Regions from separate parts of the Homo sapiens genome. Here region 1 is linked to region 2. The links are contacts of gene promoters, found by promoter capture Hi-C in human tissues and cell types (Jung and others, 2019). All regions are on one chromosome and are shown on one strand. The core of a region is centred on a gene start or on the middle of the fragment in contact, and the rest is flanking DNA. Distances in the headings are between cores, read along the strand shown.

What was found. The method cuts DNA at HindIII sites, captures the fragments that hold promoters and counts their contacts. A contact is called where the count stands out against the background at its distance.
Region 1: a contact is called between a fragment that was not itself captured here and the fragment with the promoter of TRMT10C in region 2, in 1 of the 25 tissues and cell types used here (lymphoblastoid cells).

What each region holds. Positions count from the first base shown.
Region 1 is chr3:100,767,707-100,774,467 of GRCh38, forward strand. It overlaps ABI3BP (ABI family member 3 binding protein), which reads right to left. Exons shown (of 68, transcript NM_001375547.2): 62 at 3,037-3,246. Among named protein-coding and RNA genes, the nearest start is that of TFG, 62 kb to the left of the region's middle. The HindIII fragment of the contact is 3,129 bases long and covers 1,878-5,006 here.
Region 2 is chr3:101,558,912-101,565,359 of GRCh38, forward strand. It overlaps TRMT10C (tRNA methyltransferase 10C, mitochondrial RNase P subunit), which reads left to right and starts at 2,957. Exons shown (of 2, transcript NM_017819.4): 1 at 2,957-3,092; 2 at 5,859-6,448. The coding sequence starts at 5,871. RefSeq lists enhancers at 2,943-3,012, 3,023-3,092. The HindIII fragment of the contact is 17,919 bases long and covers 1-6,448 here.

The DNA.
Region 1 (6,761 bases), core at 2,192-4,691, 790 kb before region 2:
TTCATACTACTGCTTATGGGGATTAAATTGGGTACAGGTGGAAAGTGCCTTGATAGTATTTTTCATAGATTTTGTTCAACAGGTGGTACCTATTATTATGCTGCTTTTATTATTATTTATCATCCTTGAGTTGTGGTTTGAAAATATGACTAGAAAAATTTTAAGATTCCAATAGGAAAGGTTCACGTGCTGCTAAATCACCAAAAGAACAATTTATATGACACTCCAGTTGGTTATGCACCAAAGCAACCACCTTCAGAAAGCATCTTTGGCTTGGGACATTCCTCAACTGTATGACATTCTTCTTAATATTAAACCTGCCTTTTAGTAGTTGAAACTTCTATTGCATGTCTTCTCTGATTTCCATTTGGCTCAAGTTTTTTTTTTTTTTTTTTTTTGAGACGGAGTCTCACACTCTGTCGCCTAGGCTGGAGTGCAGTGACGCCATCTCGGCTCACTGCAAGCTCCGCCTCCTGGGTTCACTCCATTCTCCTGCCTCAGCCTCCGGAGTAGCTGGGGCTACAGGCGCCCGCCACCACACCCGGCTAATTTTTTGTATTTTTAGTAGAGACGGGGTTTCACCGTGTTAGCCAGGATGATCTTGATCTCCTGACCTCGTAATCCGCCCACCTCAGCCTCCCAGAGTGCTGGGATTACAGGCGTGAGCCACTGAGCCCGGCCTGGCTCAAGTTTTAAAAGCTGATTTAATAATTTTTTTTATGGAAGATCAGAATTCTCAAAATGGATCTAGAAGCTTTCTTCCTAATTAAAAAGACATTTAGAATTTCAGAATTGTAGCTTTTGAATATACATTTGTCTTGTGCTTTGTAAATATATATTTCCCATTTTTTAATCCTTTCAAGTGCTAATACCTTTTCGTAAATCCACCATTACAAAAATTGCTCCTACCGATAAACATTAACAATTTCTAGTTTATGCGGCATATTCAAATATCTTATTTTTCTCCTCAGGATAAATTGATAACAATGAGGATTATTATTATTATTACACCTAAGGAAACTAAGGCTCAAACAGTCTAATTTTATACACAAGTTGAGTATCTAAAATAAAGCTGGTCTGGGATTTAAATCTGTGTCAGCATGCTCTTGGACTATCAGATTATGATGCTGATAACTAACAACTTGAAGTTGCCCAAGGATCCAGGCTATGGCCAATTTTTTGGTGTACCTTTTTCTACTTCAGTATAGAAAGGACATGTAGAAGCAGCTGAAGCTGGATGTCTTCACTGGAGGTGAATATGTGTCCCCATCAACTCAAAGAAAGAAGCCAACTCAGGGGGAAGAATAGATATAACTCTATTATATCTCAGTTCCTTTTTGTAAAGTCAGTTCAAGAGATATAAGAATTAATCTCTATATTATCTGAGCTGCTGGTTTGTAAACAATCGCTTTTGAAATCAAGTGGTATTTAAGGGAACACTAAAACAAAATGGAATGAAAAACCAACAGGATTTTAGGGCAAATGGTCTAATGTTTAAATACGGACTAGGTGAACTATGGTTAAATACGAACTTAATTCTATTTAGGAAATTCTGCAGCTAAAGAGATGTGATCCTTGTCCACAAAAATTGTTATAAGTCCTCTGTATCATGTGACAGATCTCAAGCACCTCATTAACATTTAGTAACAGCATTACAAAAGCAGTTTGGTTAGATGGATAAAGTATACTCTATCCATGATTTTTTGAGATTAAACATATATACAATCAGAAAGGCCAATTCTTCAGCTTAATAAAGTTACATCGGATATTATGAATATATCCAAGTTGATGTGTATTCGATAATTAAATGTATTAGATTAACCAGTTCCAACTCAATGTTCCGTATCTTTAAGGCAAATGAAATTTTATAGATCATTTAGTTTCATGAGAACTAAGCCTCAGATGATCACAGGAACTCCTTACTAGCACAGTATATGAAGAGTTTTAGACATTTTAATGGATGTAGATAATCAGTACTGAGAGATTAATTGATTTTTAGATATTTGTAGTACCTATTAGCACAGTCCCAAGGAAAGAAGCAGGACTAGGAAAATCTCCAGGAACCATGGGTAGCAGTGGGTTCTTTCTCAAAACAAAGGCTAGCTTTGCATGAGAAAGGGAAACTCACAAAACGTGGTAAAGAAAGCTAGTTAAGATAAGCCGCTTACACTGGAAGTTGCCCAGATCCAATGGTTCTGTCTGAGGAGACATAGCTGCTGTTTTCCATGTGCAGTAGGAAATGTTTTTGGCAGATCCTGAGTCCCTGCATGCGCTACCTGGTCCTGTGCACTGCTCCTCTCCCTTCCTGATGGCCTCTTAGTTGACCCCTCTATTCCCTGCCTGCCTGCACCAGGTACATGGCAGGAACTTGGGTGGCAGGAATTCACTTACCATGCTATTTGCTATATCCTCTAGCTGATTTAGCTTGCTAGTCTTTTTTCATCCTCCTCTCGTTTGACTATCCTCTTCGTTATGGAGAATCAGACTGTTGTATAACAAATTCAGAGTGTCTTGGGGTTTCTTAGTTTTTACAATCATTTTTAGAGGAATTGGTGGGTGGTAACAGAATAAAAATTTCTTAAGATGAGAAGAAAATTGATCAGGAATAGAATTTTTGTTTTTATTTATCCTAAGACAGTTGAAGTAACCTTTAGTCTGCTAGAAAGTTCTAGGTCAATAAGAAATGGGGTTGGTGAAAGGAAAATTAGTTTTAAATTAATCAGCAATGTAATTTTCTGGATAATGAAAGACTAGCTTCTTCTTCATTGTGTGAAAAAGAGTTCTGAGAGGAGATGGAAAGAATGCAGCTTGAGGAGATTTACTAAATTAACAGGGAGACCATAACAAGGACAAAGATGATCTTTTCTCATCCTATGACATTGTTGACAATAATGTGCCTTAAAGGCAGCAAAACTGCTAGTTTTGTCTCCTCCCCAGGTATGCTTCACATGTCAACGTTGACCCAGGGTACCCCACTCCCAGGGTATCTTGTTATCAAAGCTTCCCACCATAACAGTCCTCATGCCATGATCTTACCAGTGACAGTGTCATTTAGTGGCTTTTCCCAGTCCAAGATGACAAATGAGGGGCACCCTTCCACGGTGACCACAGTGAGGTTGGTGGGTGGGTTCTGTGGTGGGCTGGTGGCATTCCCCTCTGTGGCCTCCTCTTTGGGGAACCGTTTGACAGAGTCAGTAATGGAGCAGGGACTGTTGTCAGGCTTTTGGATGTATCGCACATGAGGTCCTACGAGAGAGAGGACCCTTGACATTTAACATTTTTGAAACTCATGAAGAAGATAGAAGTGAGCTCATAAATATAATTTGAGGACATTTGGTCTCATATTATAAGCGGATGGTTGAAAGCCATGATGTGGATGGTTCAAACTAGGAAAATTCAAAATCTTGCCTCTGAGATACGTGATATAGGGTGGTGTTGATTTACTTACTGAATAAGTTTAGCTTATGCTAATATCCGAAAGTAATTTGATCCCCCTAAGCATAGTTTAAACTTCATACTTTATGGGGCACTGGGTCTTACCCTCAGTGGTAGGGAATAATTAGCTCTATACTAAACACAGTTCTGGTCCCACTCAATAAATTTTAAAAACTAGACTCAAAAGAATCAAGTAGCTTCAAGTATTTTACTGTATCCCAGAACAAAACTCAAGAATAATCTAGGAATAATTAAAAAAAAAATCCAGCACCTAAAAGGTAAAATTCATAGGAAAATATTACCTATAATAAGGAGAAAAAAATCAATCATTTGAAACCAATGTAGATCTCACATAGATGTTAGAATAATCAGATAAGAATTATACTTATTACTATAATCCACATATTCAAAAAGTTAGTAAAGACATGTATGATATTAAAAAAGACCCAAATCAAATTTCTAGAGATGAAAGCTATAAGACAGAAGATGCACTGGTTAGAATTAATACCTATAAGATAATACAGAATAAATGATTAGTGAACTCAAAGACATAGCAATAAAAACATCCAAAAAGAGGGAGAGAAGATAAACATTAAAAATAATGAACATCACTGAGCTGTGTGGACCATTTCTGGTGGTCTCATATACATGTAATTGGAGTACCTGAGGTAAAGAAGCGGGTGAGCAGAAAAAAATATTTTAAGAAATAATGGTCCCAAATCTTCCAAATATGATAAAACTTCTAAACCCATAGATCCAAAAAGCTCAAAGATACCTAGAAACAACAAAAATGTAGAAAACTATATGCCAGTCATAATCAAGTTTCTCAAAACAAGTGATAAAGAGAAAATCCTTAAAGGAGGCAGACCAAAAAAAGACATGTTGTATACAGAACAACAAAGATAAGGATTGTGGCAGATTTCTTACTAGAAAGAATGCAAGTGAGAGGCATTGAAACAGCATCTTCAATTATTGAAATAAAAGACATCATTTAGAATTTAATAAGTAGTGAAAATACCTTAAAAGCAAAACACTTTTTCTAGACATACAAAATCTGTAAGAATTTATTTGCCAGAAGGCCCACACTAAAAGAAATATTAAAGGAAGTCTTTCAGGTAGGAAGGAAACAATGCCGACAGAAATATGGAGCCACACAAAGTGATGAAAAGCGCAGTGACAGTAAACACATAGGTAACATACACAATGTTTTTCTTATTATTTATCTCTAAAAAATAGTTTACTGTTTAAACATAAATAAAAACACCTTACGGTAATGTATATAACATGTAAAAGTAAAATGTATGACAATAATAGTCCAAAGGCCAAGAGGGGAGTAAAGCTATGCTAGTGTGAGGTTCTTATATGTGAAGTTGTAGATTATCACTAGACGGCAGATTGTGATAAATTAAAGATACATACTATAAACCCCAAAGCAACCATGAAAATAATAAAACAAAATTACAGTTAATAAGACAACAAAAAAGATTAAATGAAATCGTAACATACTCAACCTAAAAGAAGATTGACAAAGAGGAAAAAAGGGAACAAAGAATAGATGGGAAAAATAGAAAGCAAATAGCAAGATGAAGATTTAAATGTACCAATATCAATAGCCATATTAAATGTAAGGTTCTACACACCCAAAATAAAATGCAGGCTGGGCGTGGTGGCTCATGCCTATAATCCCAGCACTTTGGGAGGCCGAGATGGGTGGATCACTGGCAGTCGGGAGTTTGAGATCAGCCTGGCCAACATGGTGAAACCACATCTCTACTAAAAATACAAAAACTATGGGGATGGTGACGGGCACCTGTAATCTCAGCTGCTTGGGGAGGCTGAGGCAGGAAAATCACTTGAACCCAGGAAGCGGAGGTTGCAGTGAGATGAGATCACACCACTGCACTTCAGCCTGGGCAACAGAGCGAGAGTCCATCTCAAAAAAAAAAAAAAAAAGAAAAGAAAAAGAAAAACTATTCTGAATAGCTCCATACCTATTAAAGAAAGTGAATTCTACTAAAAATTGATACACCGAGCTTCATTAAAATTAGAAGACACACACTGGGAAAAAATATTTTCAAAGTATGTATCTAAAAATGGTCTTGTATCCAGAAAATATAGATTCTCAAAATTCAACATTAAACAAGCAACTCCATTTTTTAAAATGGGCAAAAATATTGGAAATAGCAAAAAAGATATATAGATGGCAAATAAGCACATAAGATGTTCAATGTTATTAAGTGGTTGCAAATTAAAACCATAATCAGATACCATTACACACCTATTAAAATGGCTAAAATAAAAAAGACTGACCATAACAAATGTTGGTGAGGATTTGGAGGAACTAGAACTCTCATCTCTGCTGATAGAAAGGTAAAACAGTACAACTACTTTGGAAAACAGTCTTTTAAAATGTTATATAAACACTTATATGTCATGTAGCCACCCCTTCCTAGGTATTTGTCCAAAGGAATGAAAGCATATGGCTATACAAAGACATGTACATGAATGGTCATAATAGCTTTATCAGTAATGTAAAAGAAATACCAATGCCACGAATGCATTTACTAAAGAAACAAATTATTGAATATCCAAATAATAGCATGCTAGTCAGCAATAAAAAGGAATGGACTACTGATATACATGCAGCAACATAGAGAAATCTCCAAATATTTATGCTGATAAAAGAAGCCTGACAACAAAAAGAGTTCATACTGTATGTTTTCATTTATATAAAATTTCATAAAGTACATACTATAGTATGGCAGGCCTGTTGCCACGTAGGCACTGGGGGGTTGAGTGGGAGGAATAAGAGAAAGGGATTGCAAAGACACATGATGAAACTTTTGGAAGTTATATATGGGTTATTATCTTGATTGTGATGATGGTCTCATGGGTGTATACATATATTAAAATTCATCAAATGTTACATTTCAGAAAAAAAAGGGCTCTATGTCATATTGTATCTCTCCTACTGTGGTAGATTGTTGTTCAAAACTATTCTTTATGTCCACAGGAGAAGTATTCTTCCCCAATCCTTGATTTGATCTTGGCTGTGTGACATTTTTTGGCCAATGGACATTGGTAGATATGACACAAAAAGGAGCTTTAAATGTGGTTTTGCATTTGGACACCCCCTTTCTTGATTTTGCATTATTACGAAAATGGCTTCCCCTGGGTCACTGTTGGTTGTTCATCCTGGGAATCAGAGTAAACACATGTGGGGTGGACCTGAGTCCAACCCACAAGAGGCCTAGCTGTACCTGCTGCTAGAAGCAGAACCACTAAGCTAAACATATCCTAGATCAGCTGACACCCAGTTGACTTGC
Region 2 (6,448 bases), core at 1,707-4,206:
CTTTCAAATATTCCCCCTTTTCTTTGCCTTTACTGCCACCACTGTTGTCCAAGCCACTAACATCACTTACCTGATCTATTTAGTATTCATTCATCAGCAAATTATTATTGAGTTTCCGATACTTGCCAAGCACTGTTGTAGACATTGAAGGTAGAGCAGAGAATCAAATACAAGAGTTCTCTACTTTGTAAGTAACACCTAAATCTTTGAATCCATGCTTTGTCTTCCAACTCTTGAAAGAGACGTTGGTATAGAGAAATCGTTCTCTATTATATAATAAACAGTGCAGGCAAAATACATGGCAAATGACATTTGCACCAGTGTAGAAAAGATAACATGTGGTGGAATAAGCTCTGGGGAACTGGAGAGTGGGTGCCTTGACTACAAAACAGCCTTTATTTAGGTCTAACCATTGTTTCCAAGAAGAAATATGAGCCAAGAGAGAGCATTCAGACCTTCTAGTTTTTCAATTCTAGTGTTTATGTGACATTGTCTTATGGGTTTTTATATATTTCCTTGCTTTTAAAATTTATTTCTTTTTCTTTTCTTTTTTTGTGTATTTTTTGTAGAGAGAGGGTTTCACCACGTTGGCCAGGCTGGTCTGGAACTCTTGAGCCCAAGCAATCTGCCTGCCTTGGCCTCCCAAAATGCTGATTATAGGCATGAGCCACTGCTCCTGGCCTACAATTTATTTTTTATTTTTTTGATACCTTACATCCCATATTACAAGCTATTTTTCTATGCCAAAACATGTATTTTGAGGCCGGGCGCGGTGGCTCACGCCTGTAATCCCAGCACTGTGGGAGTCCGAGGCGGGCGGATCACGAGGTCAGGAGATCGAGACCATCCTGGCTAACACGGTGAAACCCTGTCTCTACTAAAAATACAAAAAATTAGCCGGGCGCGGTGGCGGGCGCCTGTAGTCCCAGCCACTCGGGGGCTGAGGCAGGAGAATGGCGTAAACCCGGGAGGCGGAGCTTGCAATGAGCCGAGATCGCGCCACTGCACTCTGGCCTGGGTGAAAGAGCGAGACTCCGTCTCAAAAAAAAAAAACAAAAAAACGTATTTTGAAAATCACTGTGCTTTTTGTTGGAGGTAAGATGTCTGAAACCTGGAAATATTCTTAATCTAGAATAGGTCAGATCCCAGACATATTGAATAAATTATGTTCTGCTATATTTATAGAAACACTTCCAAAGATTTTTCACATAAAGAATCTTAGTAAACTTAACAGAATGAAATTTCCTTTACTTGACAAAGATCATATAGCAAAAACCTTCATAAAATATTAATGGAAAAACTTCAGATGTATCTCTTTAAAGAACAGGAACAAGAAAAAATAACCTCTACACTGCTATTTGTTATAACTACTAGACGATATTTATTCTTGATTTTTTTCCATGTTTGGGAGTAAACTCATGATTATTTTGCTATCACCACCTCACCTTTCTAACATGATAGTAATCAGTCTCTTAGACAAGATCTCGTTTTTTAAAATCATTTGGAAAAGACTATGCCTACCTTCTTTTATTTTAGTAAACTATATACAATATAAACATTTCCATTTTAGTCATTTTCAAGTGTACAGTTCAATGGCATTAAGTACATTCACGTTCTTGTACAACCATCACTACTATCCATCTCCAGAACTTTTTCATCATCCCATACTGAAAATTCATACCTATTAAACAGTAACTGCCCATTCTTCCCTTTCCCCAGCCCCTGGTAAACACTATTCTACTTTCTTTCTTTATGATTTGACTATTCTAGGCACTTCATATAGGTGGACTTATACAATATTTGTCCTTTTGTGCCTGGCTTATCTCAGTGTATAATGCCTCCAAAGTTTATCCATGTTGTACCATGTATCAGAACTTCATTCCTTTTTAAGACTGAATAATATTCCATTGTATGTACATGCAACATTTTTTAATCTATTCATCTGTTCATGGATATTTGGGTTGCTTCCACCTTTTGGTTATTATCAATAATGCTACAATGACATTAGAGTACAAGTGTCTGTTTGTGTCTCTGCTTTCAATTTCTTTGGGTATATTACTAGGAGTAGAATGGCTGCAGAATATGTTCATTCTGTGTTTGGTTACAAATATATGTGGAGGCTGAATTGGCCCCAAAGGCCACCAATTTACAAATGTGTTTTAATTTCATTTCACATTAAACTTTCCAAATGAGCTAGGAGGAGACAGAAACTTACCGTGGCTTATCACGTTCCAAGCATAGTGCCAGGTACTGGTGATAAACTGGTCAAAAAGATTAGGAGTTTAAAGTCCTAGCGTCAAGGAGTTTGAAGCTGAGTAAGAAGACGTGTGAAAAAAACATACTTTATTTTAGTACTCTGTCAGCAAATGTTTATAAATACAGGGCCCAAACAGAGAGTAGGTTGAAAAGAGGATTAGAAACAGTTTTTTTTTTTTTTTTTTTTTTTTTTTGAGACAGAGAGTCTTGCTCTGTCGCCCAGGCTGGAGTGCAGTGGCGCGATCTCAGCTCACCGCAACCTCCGCCTCCCAGGTTCAAGCGATTCTCCTGCCTCAGCCTCCCGAGCAACTGGGATTACAGGCGCGCGCCACCACACCTGGCTAATTTTTGTATTTTTAGTAGAGACGGGGTTTCACTATGTTGGCCAGGCTGGTCTCAAACTCCTGACCCCAAGTGATCCGCCCGCCTCGGCCGCCCAAAGCACTGGGATAACAGGCGTAAGCCAACTGGCCCGGCCCAGAAGAAGTTTTTAGGATATATGGAGGAAAACACAACACAACACAGCTACAACTCCGTGACAACTGAGAGCGTAGTCTTCGAGTACCCAGTTGCCTACTGACAGCCGTCTCCTCTAAGGCGCTTCTTTTAGCCAAGAAAGCGTTCTTTGCGTGCTGTGACGTAAAAAGCAGCGCCGGAAGGGAGAGGGCGGAACTTCCGGCTGAGCCCCAGCGACCGCTCTGGTCGGCTGTGTAGACTGTTGGGTAGGCTGCGTGCTAGCTTCGGCGCGGATCCCTGGGCGTCCGTACGTCGGAGTCCTTCGTCCTCCAGGGTCCCTGTTCTTTGCGCCAGCGGGAACCACTATCTCTGCACTCCTGGTAAGCGAGTTTCTTCTTTCGCCTAATGTGTGTGTTGGGGGTGGGAGGACGCCGGAGACGTTCCAAGATGCACTTAGTGGAGCATGTGCGTTCGGAAGGCCCACGGGTAAGAGGAAGCCCAGTGATTTTAATAAACTATAACTAGTACAGTACCTGAAACAAAATCAGTGGTTCCTGAAATGATGTACTTGATTGCTTTTTACAATTGGGGTTTTCATTTCTGTGGTATTCTAAGTCCTTGCCAGTTACAAGAATAAAACTTTTAAAACTCCTTCTGAAATCAATGTTTATTAGATTGGGGCCTGGGGACCCCAGTTAAATATTTCCGGGATTCTAAAGTAAATTGTTTTCTCTTTAAAGGGAGGCTGAGCCGGGCGCGGTGGCTCACGCCTGTAATCCCAGCACAATGAGAGGCCGAGGTGGGCGGATCACGAGGTCAGGAGATCCGAGACCATCCTGGCTAACACAGTGAAACCCCGTCTGTACTAAAAATACAAAATAGCCGGGCGTGGTGGCGGGTGCCTGTAGTCCCAGCTACTCGGGAGGCTGAGGCAGGAGAATGGCGTGAACCCTGGGAGGCGGAGCTTGCGCCGAGATCGCGCCACTATACTCCAGCCTGGAGTGACAGAGCGAGACTCCGTCTCAAAAAAAATAATAAAGGGAGGCTGAACTTTTTTTTTCTTTTTTTTTTTTTTAATGAAGGAAGCATCGATCTAGGGTATTAGAAAAATATTTGCGTGATTACTGTGAGCCAAATACTGTCAAGCATTGGATTCAATGTTAACATTATAGACAAAGTCCTTGTCCTCATGGACACTAGTTAGTCCTTACCATCTAGTGAGGCAAATAGATAACCAGGCAATTACAGTGCAGTGTTAGAAGTACTGTCATAGGCACCAGAGTGCTGTGAAAAGTAATGGTGGAATACTTGAAGTGTGAGGTGAAGAATAGCTAGAGATGCTGCTGACCTGGCCGCAATAAGCTTAGAAATATATGTTGGGAACAATACCAATGGATAGCAATATCCCTTGAAACAGAACATTGAAGGAGGATCAGATTGTGAAGCAAAGGTAGAGGGGTTATTTCGATTTGTTGCGTTTGAGGTGTTTTTTGTTTGTTTTTGTTGTTTTGAGACAGTCTTACTCTGTCGCTCACTGCAACAGATTTTGTTGCAAAATCTCGGCTCACTGCAACTTCCGCCCCCCTTATTCAAGCGATTCTTCTACATCAGCCTCACGAGTACCTGGGAAGTAGAAGAATCGCCCCACTTCAGCCTCACGAGTACCTGGGATTACAGGCATGCGCCACCACACCTGGCTAATTTTTGTATTTTTAGTAGAGACAGGGTTTCGCCATGTTGGTCAGGCTGGTCTCAAACTCCTGACCTCAAGCGATCCTCCCTCCTCGGCCTTCCAAAGTGCTGGGATTACAGGAGTGAGCCACTGCACCCGGCCTGCATTTGAGATGTCTTTCTAATGCATGGTCATTGAAGCCACAGAAGTAGGTCACATCTCAGAAGGGAAATGTATAGATTGAAAAAAAAGAATAGGATAGAATGCGGAGTTACATCCACCTTTAAGGGAGGGGCATCTGGACATCAGTGCACAGGTCAGAGAGCAGGAAACCTAGGAGCCTGTGCAGGGTCATTAAATGAAGCCAAGGGAAGAAGGAATTTTTCAAGTGTTTTATTTGCATTTTGTAAAAATTTGAATTCCCTTTATTTCTTTTCCTTCAAATTTGAGACAAGTTTTACATCTTTAAGCATCTTCAATATCTCATGGACATCCAGGCTTTTAGGATAAAACTGTGGAGCTTTATATACATTTATATACATTTGTCTCAATCTTGGACATTTTCTTTGTTAATAACATTATTTGCTGCAAAATAAAGCCTGAACTGGGGAAGAATTTGTTGCTATTTTTTGATCAGTAGATCTTGGTATATTTCTGTAACGAGGGCATTGGTACAGCAGTTTCTAAGTGCTTTTTACCTGTTGCCATTCTCAGTACCTTTCATGTCCTTTGTCTTTATTTGTTGCTTTTGTGAAGGATCTTATGTTTGGTTCTGTATCTGGGCTTAGTGTAGAATGGAGGAGTATGCAGCATCATGATGTCAGCTGCCTCGGTGGTACATAACTTTGTTGCCCAGTAACATTGATTCTCTGGGCCCCTAGATAAAAATCTAAAAAGGATCTTCAACTTATCCTTTTAGCTAAAGCAATAGTGAAATTCATGTCTAAAATAAGAACCCAACTTTTTTTTTTTTTTTTTTTGAGACAGAATCTCACTCTGTCACCCAGGCTGGAGTGCAGTGGCACAATCTCGCCTCACTGCAACCTCCAACTCCCGGGTTCAAGCAATTCTCCTGCCTCAGCCTCCCGAGAAGCTGGGATTACAGGTGCTTGCCACCATACCTGGCTAATTTTTGTATTTTTGGTAGAGATGGGGTTTCTCACCATGTTGGCCAGGCTAGTCTTGAACTCCTGACCTCAGGTGATCCACCCACCTCAGGCTCCCAAAGTGCTGGGATTACAGGCATGAGCCACTGCGCCCGGCCAAGAACCCAACTAAGTTTTAAACTTTTTACTCAATGAGTGATCACAGGCTGTAGACCACAGGAGTCTAGGAAAAAAATTGGTACAAAGATTTTACCTTGTGTTTCAAAAATTGATTTTATTTTGCTATTTCAAATTTATACTTGCACAATTAGTTGAGAAGTTATAAAAATCTTTGTCTAATTTTTAATTGCATTTTTCTTCTTTTACAGGGGTTTTGTTACATGGCTGCTTTCCTCAAAATGAGTGTTAGTGTCAATTTCTTCAGACCTTTCACCAGGTTTTTGGTGCCATTTACCCTTCATAGGAAGAGAAATAACTTAACAATTTTGCAGAGATACATGTCTTCCAAAATACCAGCTGTTACTTATCCTAAAAATGAGAGTACACCCCCTTCTGAAGAGCTAGAGTTGGATAAGTGGAAAACTACCATGAAATCTAGTGTGCAAGAAGAATGTGTTTCAACAATCTCAAGCAGTAAGGATGAAGATCCTCTAGCTGCCACCAGAGAGTTCATTGAGATGTGGAGATTGCTTGGCAGAGAAGTACCAGAACACATCACTGAAGAAGAGCTCAAAACCCTTATGGAATGTGTTTCTAACACAGCAAAAAAAAAATATTTAAAATATTTATATACGAAGGAAAAAGTGAAAAAAGCTAGGCAAATAAAAAAGGAAATGAAAGCAGCAGCAAGGGAAGAAGCAAAAAATATCAAGCTGCTAGAAACCACTGAGGAAGATAAACAGAAAAACTTTCTATTTTTACGACTTTGGGATAGGAATATGGACATAGCAATGGGCTG